Linked DNA regions of Homo sapiens: region 1 is linked to region 2. Evidence: promoter capture Hi-C in 16 types of primary human blood cells and fetal thymus (Javierre and others, 2016). All regions are on one chromosome and are shown on one strand. Each heading gives the region's core, a stretch centred on a gene start or on the middle of the fragment in contact. The rest is flanking DNA. Distances are from core to core; before and after follow the strand shown. Region 1 overlaps RFT1 (RFT1 glycolipid translocator homolog). Region 2 holds the start of ITIH4-AS1 (ITIH4 antisense RNA 1).

Region 1 (3,379 bases), core at 439-2,938, 290 kb before region 2:
CTGTTAGCTCCATTTTACAGACAAGAAAACTGAGGTTCAGAGGAGTTAAGTGACTAATCCAAAATCACATAGCTGGTTTTGGACCCACTTCTCTCCACCTTTTGCTGGGGACTAGCTTTAGACTGTGGCTTACCCCTATGTTATGTAGCCTTCCAAAAGAAATTGGCTTATTGCCCATAGTAGTTATTGTTTACATAAAGATTAGGAAGTTCCAGGTGGAACAATTCATAATTCAGGTTTATTATTTTAAAAAGAAGCCCGGGCATGGTGGCTCACACCTGTAATCCCAGCACTTTGGGAGGCTGAGCGGGCAGATCACTTGAGGTCAGGAGTTGGAAACCAGCCTGGCCCACATGGTGAAACCCCGTCTCTACTAAAAATACAAAACAGTTAGCTGGGCATGGTGGCATGCGCCTGTAATCCCAGCTACTTGGGAGGCTGAGGCAGGAGAACTGCTTGAACCCAGGAGGTGGAGGTTGCAGTGAGCTGAGATCGCACCACTACACTCTAGCCTGGGCAACAGAGCAAGACTCTGTCTCAAAAAAAAAAGAGAAAGAAAAAAAGAGGCTGGGTGTGGTGGCTCAAGCCTGTAATCCCAGCACTTTGGGAGACCGAAGTGGGAGGATTGCTTGAGCCCAGGAGTTTGAGACCAGCCTGGGAAACATGGTAAGAACCCGTCTTTACAAAACATGTAAAATTTAGCTGGGCATGGTGGCACATGCCTGTGATCCCAGCTACTCTGGAGGCTGAGGCAGGAGGATCACTTGAGCCCTGGAGACTGAGGCTACAGTAAGCTGTGTTCATGCTACTGCACTTTAGCCTGGGCGACAGAGTGAAACCCTGTCTCAAAAAAAAAAAAAAAAAAAAGAAATGAGATGATTCTGAATGCATGAACGCAGTGTATGACTTTACCATGAGCAGCATGCCTGACTTGACTCCCCAGAGCAGCTTTCTGCACTGGGGACTTCCTTAATGGAAGCTGGTCAAATAATTATATTTACTATCAATTTGACTTAATTGTAAGATTTCCCTTCCTGTTCTTGTAGAATTCCATCTTCTTTAAAGATGCTTATTTAACCTTATAATAAATTAATGATACTTCAAATAATGGCTTCCGTTTATATTCATTGACATTTCTGAGGGATTTAATATGAGAGATATGCTAATATTTAAGTAAAGCTGAGGAATTTGACTCAGCAAGCATGTATTAAACATTATTATATGTTAGGCACTGTACCAGGTGCCCTGAGTGAGGCCCCTACCCTCAGAACTTGCATGGTGATGGAGAGATAGGATCTGTACTCAACTATGCTATAGGACAGTGTGTGTCTAGCGTTATCAAAATAGAAGCACAGAGGAAGGACTGCTGAATTCCATCTAGGAACATCAAGGAAGGCTTCACGGAGGAAGCTTCTTTTGTGCTGGACTTTGACACATGGGTGGGCAGAGGTTAAATGTATATGTGTGGTAGAGATGGGCATTCGTGACCACAGAAGGAAAGAAAATTTGCTCAGTGCTTGTTACCTGCCCATCATTGTGTTGGAATTGGGAATGTAGAGATGACTGGGGTACTTAGGTTGGCTGGAAAATGGGGGAAGGGAGAGAAAGGAAAAGGTGGCGGGAAGTTATGAAGGGAAGTAAACCTGGCTGCCAGGCTAGGGTCAGGTGGCAGTGGCCTCAGTGCTATGGAGCTTGGGTTTAATTCAGGGGCAGTGGAGCCTAATGAAAGGTTTTTGAACAGCACCATGATCAAACTGTCTGTATTGAGGAGCTTGCCGTCTCTTACAGAGTTATAGTGTCTTATTTTTTTTCATTCAGTCCTCATACTGGCTCCATGAGACAGGACTTCTTATCCCATTTTGCAGATGAGAAAGCCAAGGCTTAGCAAAATTAAGTATCTTGTTCACGGCGACATTTACACTAATAATTCAAGGAACTGCAGGTCGAGCCCCAATCTCCAAGCTTGACTCCAAAGCCTGAACCTGCAATGAGAAGGATAGGCTAGAGAAAGAGTAAGAAGCAAAAAAAGCTCATTGGGAGCCTGTGGCAATTGTCCAGGTGAGGAGTAAGGACAGGGGGAGGATGGATGAAAGTGGGAGGATGGATAAAGCTGGGGCAGCATCAATAGCCCCAGAGTGACTGGGATAGGTGGAGCAAGAGGGAGAGGAAGGAGTGCTCTGTAGGGTGGAGGAGGTGACAGAGGGCAGTGGACAGGATGGTAGCCCCACACTCACCAGTGACTCTTGTCATTGTGGTAAGGATGTGGCTGATCATATCATCCTGAGTCAGAAGAGTTTGGGAAGTGGACGAGTGACTCAGGTGAAAGTGTGATGAGCCTCTGAGTTCTGATTCCAGACCTTCCCTGGAGTTACCATCCATCACCTTTTACCACCTTAGCCGCCATTTCTCCGTTAGTACAGTGAGGGCAGTGGAATGGCTTGTTGGTCAGGGTATTCCAGGGAAATTCCTGGCTATTTAGATCAGCTCATCAGTACCAACCCAGCTATTGTGAAATAGGCCTCTTTTGACCGCCCCAAGTGACACCTCCATTCTGAACCTCCATTCTGAATAGAATGGTAACAGTCCACCATATGCTTCCTCTCTCCCACCACTCAGCCCCTGCCTGCAGAAGCCGCATCTCAGATTGGATTTCCTGCCTCTGTGTCCTTAATGAGCACTTTTAGTAAGTGGTGTCACCATTCCTTCTGAACCACAGGCCCATTTAAACCAAAGGCATTAGGAAAATCAAGTATGAGCTCTCAGATTAGGTACACCATCATGATCTCATTCTCCCAAAGAACTTTGTCTTTAAAGAGCTCAATCATCTTCCCAAATCCATTCACAACCTGCAGGCAAACAGGCATCACGAGAGCCTCATGACAAGCAGCAGCCTTCGTTTCCTTTTAAAAGGGGACAGGTCCTGCTTTGCTGACCCCTGGGAGGACCACCACAGCATGGCAAGGGGTGAGGAGCAGTGTGAGAGAGAGAAGGTGCTGAAGCCGGCTGTGGTCAGAATCCAAGTCTGAAGATGACGTGGTCCCCAGTGCCCCCTAGTGGTAGGAAGTTGTCTGGTGCTCTTTGTTCCGGGGAAAGGAGATGGCCTGTTTTAAACATCTTGTGGCCCAATTTCCTTCTCATCAGGGAAGATTTACTCCTGGGCTAAAGAGATAACCTGGCATCTGCTCTAGGTTCTCTGATTCCCTGAGGGCTGCACTGTTTGGGAGGATTCACACTTGCACTCCCTGTGTCTGGAAAAAAGGCTCAGAAACCAAGGAGTAAAGAGAATGGGGGCTAGAAGTGATCCTTGCTTTCAGAGGTGCTCTAGGCTTGCCCTGTCCCAAATGTTAGCCACCAGCCACATGTGGCTATAGAGCATTCT
Region 2 (3,403 bases), core at 408-2,907:
CTAGTTTCTGGCATTATTATTGTTGTTATATTTTGGTATGATCATGGCTCACTGCACCGTCAAACTCCCAGGTTCAAAAGAAACTCCTGCCTCGGCCTCCCTAGTAGCTGGGACTACAGGCGTGCACCACCACACCTGGCTAATTTTTTTTTTTTTTTTTCCAGTAGAGACAAGGTTGCCCAGGCTGGTCTTGAATTCCTGGGCTCAAGTGATCCTCCCACCTAAGCCTCCCAAAGTGCTGGAATTACAGGCGTGATTCACCACACCCAGCCATTTCTGCCATTGTTATTATACTTCCCTTTTACTCCATGTTTTTGAAGTCTTCCCTCTTTTGATGGTTGTCAGGTTTATGATGTCTGAACTTTTTAGTATAAACCATCTGAAATACTAAAACAAATAGAAGGAAAAGTTGCAGGGAGAGTTCTGGTGGGCTATGCATGAGCAGGGAAGGCTTCCGCAAGAAAGGGGCTGGTCTGAGCCCTGAAAAAGGGCAAGGTTTTGGGGAGGTTAGCAGTGGGATGGAAATGGGATTGGAACAGAGCACAGAAACCCAGAATTTGGGGTAAAGGGGCTGAATGGGGATAGGGCCAATTGTAGCTCTGATGGCCTGGGTGGGTCTCACTCTGGCCACAGATCGAGAACGGCTACTTTGTACACTACTTTGCCCCCGAGGGCCTAACCACAATGCCCAAGAATGTGGTCTTTGTCATTGACAAGAGCGGCTCCATGAGTGGCAGGAAAATCCAGCAGGTAGGTCCTGTGGCCCAGGGCAGGGCCCTGAAAACTCCCAGGCCCTTCACGCTATCAGCTGTGGTCCGGCAGGCAGACCCCCTTGCTTCACCTTTCGGCACCATGGGGCGGGTGGCTCTCAGGAACCAAGGTTGGCCAGAGCCTAGGGCAGCCCCTGTTCCTAGAGCAGATACCATGACCTCACCCCTGAGACAGGAGTCCAAGGATGCCAGCCCTAGGGCACACGAGCCCTCAGGGAGCCCTTCTGAAGCACCTATGTTTCCTCTCCCTGACCAGACCCGGGAAGCCCTAATCAAGATCCTGGATGACCTCAGCCCCAGAGACCAGTTCAACCTCATCGTCTTCAGTACAGAAGCAACTCAGTGGAGGCCATCACTGGTGCCAGCCTCAGCCGAGAACGTGAACAAGGCCAGGAGCTTTGCTGCGGGCATCCAGGCCCTGGGAGGTAAGTGTCTCTGTGGCCCTGCAGGGTGGGGGCTTCCAGGGCTCCTGGCTGGGGACCACCTTGAGAGTGCGTGTTCCTCAGGGACCAACATCAATGATGCAATGCTGATGGCTGTGCAGTTGCTGGACAGCAGCAACCAGGAGGAGCGGCTGCCCGAAGGGAGTGTCTCACTCATCATCCTGCTCACCGATGGCGACCCCACTGTGGGTGAGGGCCCTGCCCGTGACTCCAGGACGTGCTGCACAGGGGAGGCGGCTGGGGCTGCACCTGGGCTTGCTGTGGGATCTGGGCAGGGAGAGGGGGTCACTGAGGCCCCTCGGCTCTGAGGTTCCAGAAATATTCTTCAAGCAAATCACTATTTTCTCACCCTCATCCCAAACCCCTGGGTCCAGGGGAGACTAACCCCAGGAGCATCCAGAATAACGTGCGGGAAGCTGTAAGTGGCCGGTACAGCCTCTTCTGCCTGGGCTTCGGTTTCGACGTCAGCTATGCCTTCCTGGAGAAGCTGGCACTGGACAATGGCGGCCTGGCCCGGCGCATCCATGAGGACTCAGACTCTGCCCTGCAGCTCCAGGTGCCAGTGTGCCCCAGGTGGGCTGCACAGAGAAGTGGGCAGTCATAAAGCCCAGCCTTTATGACACCCCCAACCCTGCAGGACTTCTACCAGGAAGTGGCCAACCCACTGCTGACAGCAGTGACCTTCGAGTACCCAAGCAATGCCGTGGAGGAGGTCACTCAGAACAACTTCCGGCTCCTCTTCAAGGGCTCAGAGATGGTGGTGGCTGGGAAGCTCCAGGACCGGGGGCCTGATGTGCTCACAGCCACAGTCAGTGGGAAGCTGGTGAGTGTGGCCAAAGCCACCCTGGAGGGGAATGGCAGCCTCCACCTCTGCAGCCAGAGGGGCTGGACTCAAATCCCAGACCTGCCCAGCTCCAGCTTTCCCCTCTGCTGCCTGTGGATGACACAGGGGCATGGCAGGGATTCAATGAGACAATGGAGTGATTCTCATGAGACCAGCACATACAGGCTCTCGGCAGCCGGTCTGTGCACCTGCAAGCACAGGTGAGGGCAGGGATTCCTCCCTAGTTGTCATCCCTTCCTGTCCTGGTACCACAACCCTCTCAGGTTGCAGTCAGACAGGGAGGGCTGCTCCTATTTCACAAATGAGCAGACTGAGCTCCAGGCAGGGCAGGCAGCTTTCCCCGGGCCCCACTGCAACCAGGCCAAGAGCCCAGCTTGCCACGTGGCACCCTGTCCTTGCCCAGCCTTCCCTGCCTCCTTCCAGGGACCCCCTGTCATTTCCACAAAGAGAAACTGAGCACAAGCTCTGCGGCAGGGCCTTCTTCAGGCCCTGGGATGCAGCAGTGAATGAGGCTGACCCCTCCGTGCCCTCATGGGAGAGACAACCCAAGGACATATCACCACACAAACCAGCTACAGGCTGGGATCTAACCCTGGACTCAGGAGAGCAGCACCAGGAGCCCCAGCCTGGCCTGGGGATCAGGGAGGGCTTCCTGGAGGAGGCCCAGCAGAGACAAAAGGATAAGTAGGAGGTGGGAAGAGTCCAGATGGGGCAATGGAGGAATATGTTAGGCCCCTGTGGCATGAGGGCAGCGTGTGTGAAGAGAATAGGAGTGGGCGTTGGGGGCCCATGGCCTTGTTTCAGGACAAGTCCCCAAGTGTCATGACTGTTGGTACGGTCTGCGTGGCCACCCTGCCTGGCTTCAAACCCAGCTCTGCCACCTCCCAGATAGGAGACATGGAGAAGTCACTTAACCTCCATCTACTGCAGTTTCCTCCTATGTAAACATGGGAATAAGTCGCATGCCCCCCTCATAAAGTCACTGTGATTGATGTCCAGTGATAAGCACTCCATACATGTCAGCAGGTGATTTAGCTTGGAGGCCGTGGGTTCCCAAAGTACAGAACCCAAGGTGACTCAGGGGAGTTCACAGACAGACATGGCTTGTTTTAGTGGTTATTTACTTATTTTAATGTGTATTCTGAAAAATATGACCTGAACTTCAGACCTAAGATTTTTTTTTTTATTTTTTGAGATGGAGTCTCGCTCTGTCTCCCAGGCTGGAGTGCAGTGGTTGGATCTCGGCTCATTGCAAGCTCCACCTCCCAGGTTCACACCATTCTCCTGCCTCAGCCTCCCAAGTAGCTGGGACTACCAGCATCCACCACCACACCCGGCTAATTTTT

Evidence for each region. The method cuts DNA at HindIII sites, captures the fragments that hold promoters and counts their contacts. A CHiCAGO score of 5 or more calls a contact.
Region 1: a fragment that was not itself captured here is called in contact with the fragment with the promoter of ITIH4-AS1 in region 2 in 1 of 17 cell types (naive CD4 T cells); the score reaches 5.5 in naive CD4 T cells.

Annotation. Positions count from the first base shown.
Region 1 is chr3:53,113,780-53,117,158 of GRCh38, reverse strand. All of the region lies in intron 6 of RFT1 (RFT1 glycolipid translocator homolog), which reads left to right. Among named protein-coding and RNA genes, the nearest start is that of RFT1, 15 kb to the left of the region's middle. RefSeq lists an enhancer at 1,626-2,825. The HindIII fragment of the contact is 552 bases long and covers 1,413-1,964 here.
Region 2 is chr3:52,822,189-52,825,591 of GRCh38, reverse strand. It overlaps ITIH4-AS1 (ITIH4 antisense RNA 1), which reads right to left and starts at 1,657. Exons shown (of 3, transcript NR_046615.1): 1 at 1,599-1,657; 2 at 1,255-1,480; 3 at 278-387. It overlaps ITIH4 (inter-alpha-trypsin inhibitor heavy chain 4), which reads left to right. Exons shown (of 24, transcript NM_002218.5): 7 at 634-750; 8 at 1,027-1,195; 9 at 1,277-1,402; 10 at 1,588-1,769; 11 at 1,851-2,036. RefSeq lists a silencer at 1,176-1,333. The HindIII fragment of the contact is 13,495 bases long and covers 1-3,403 here.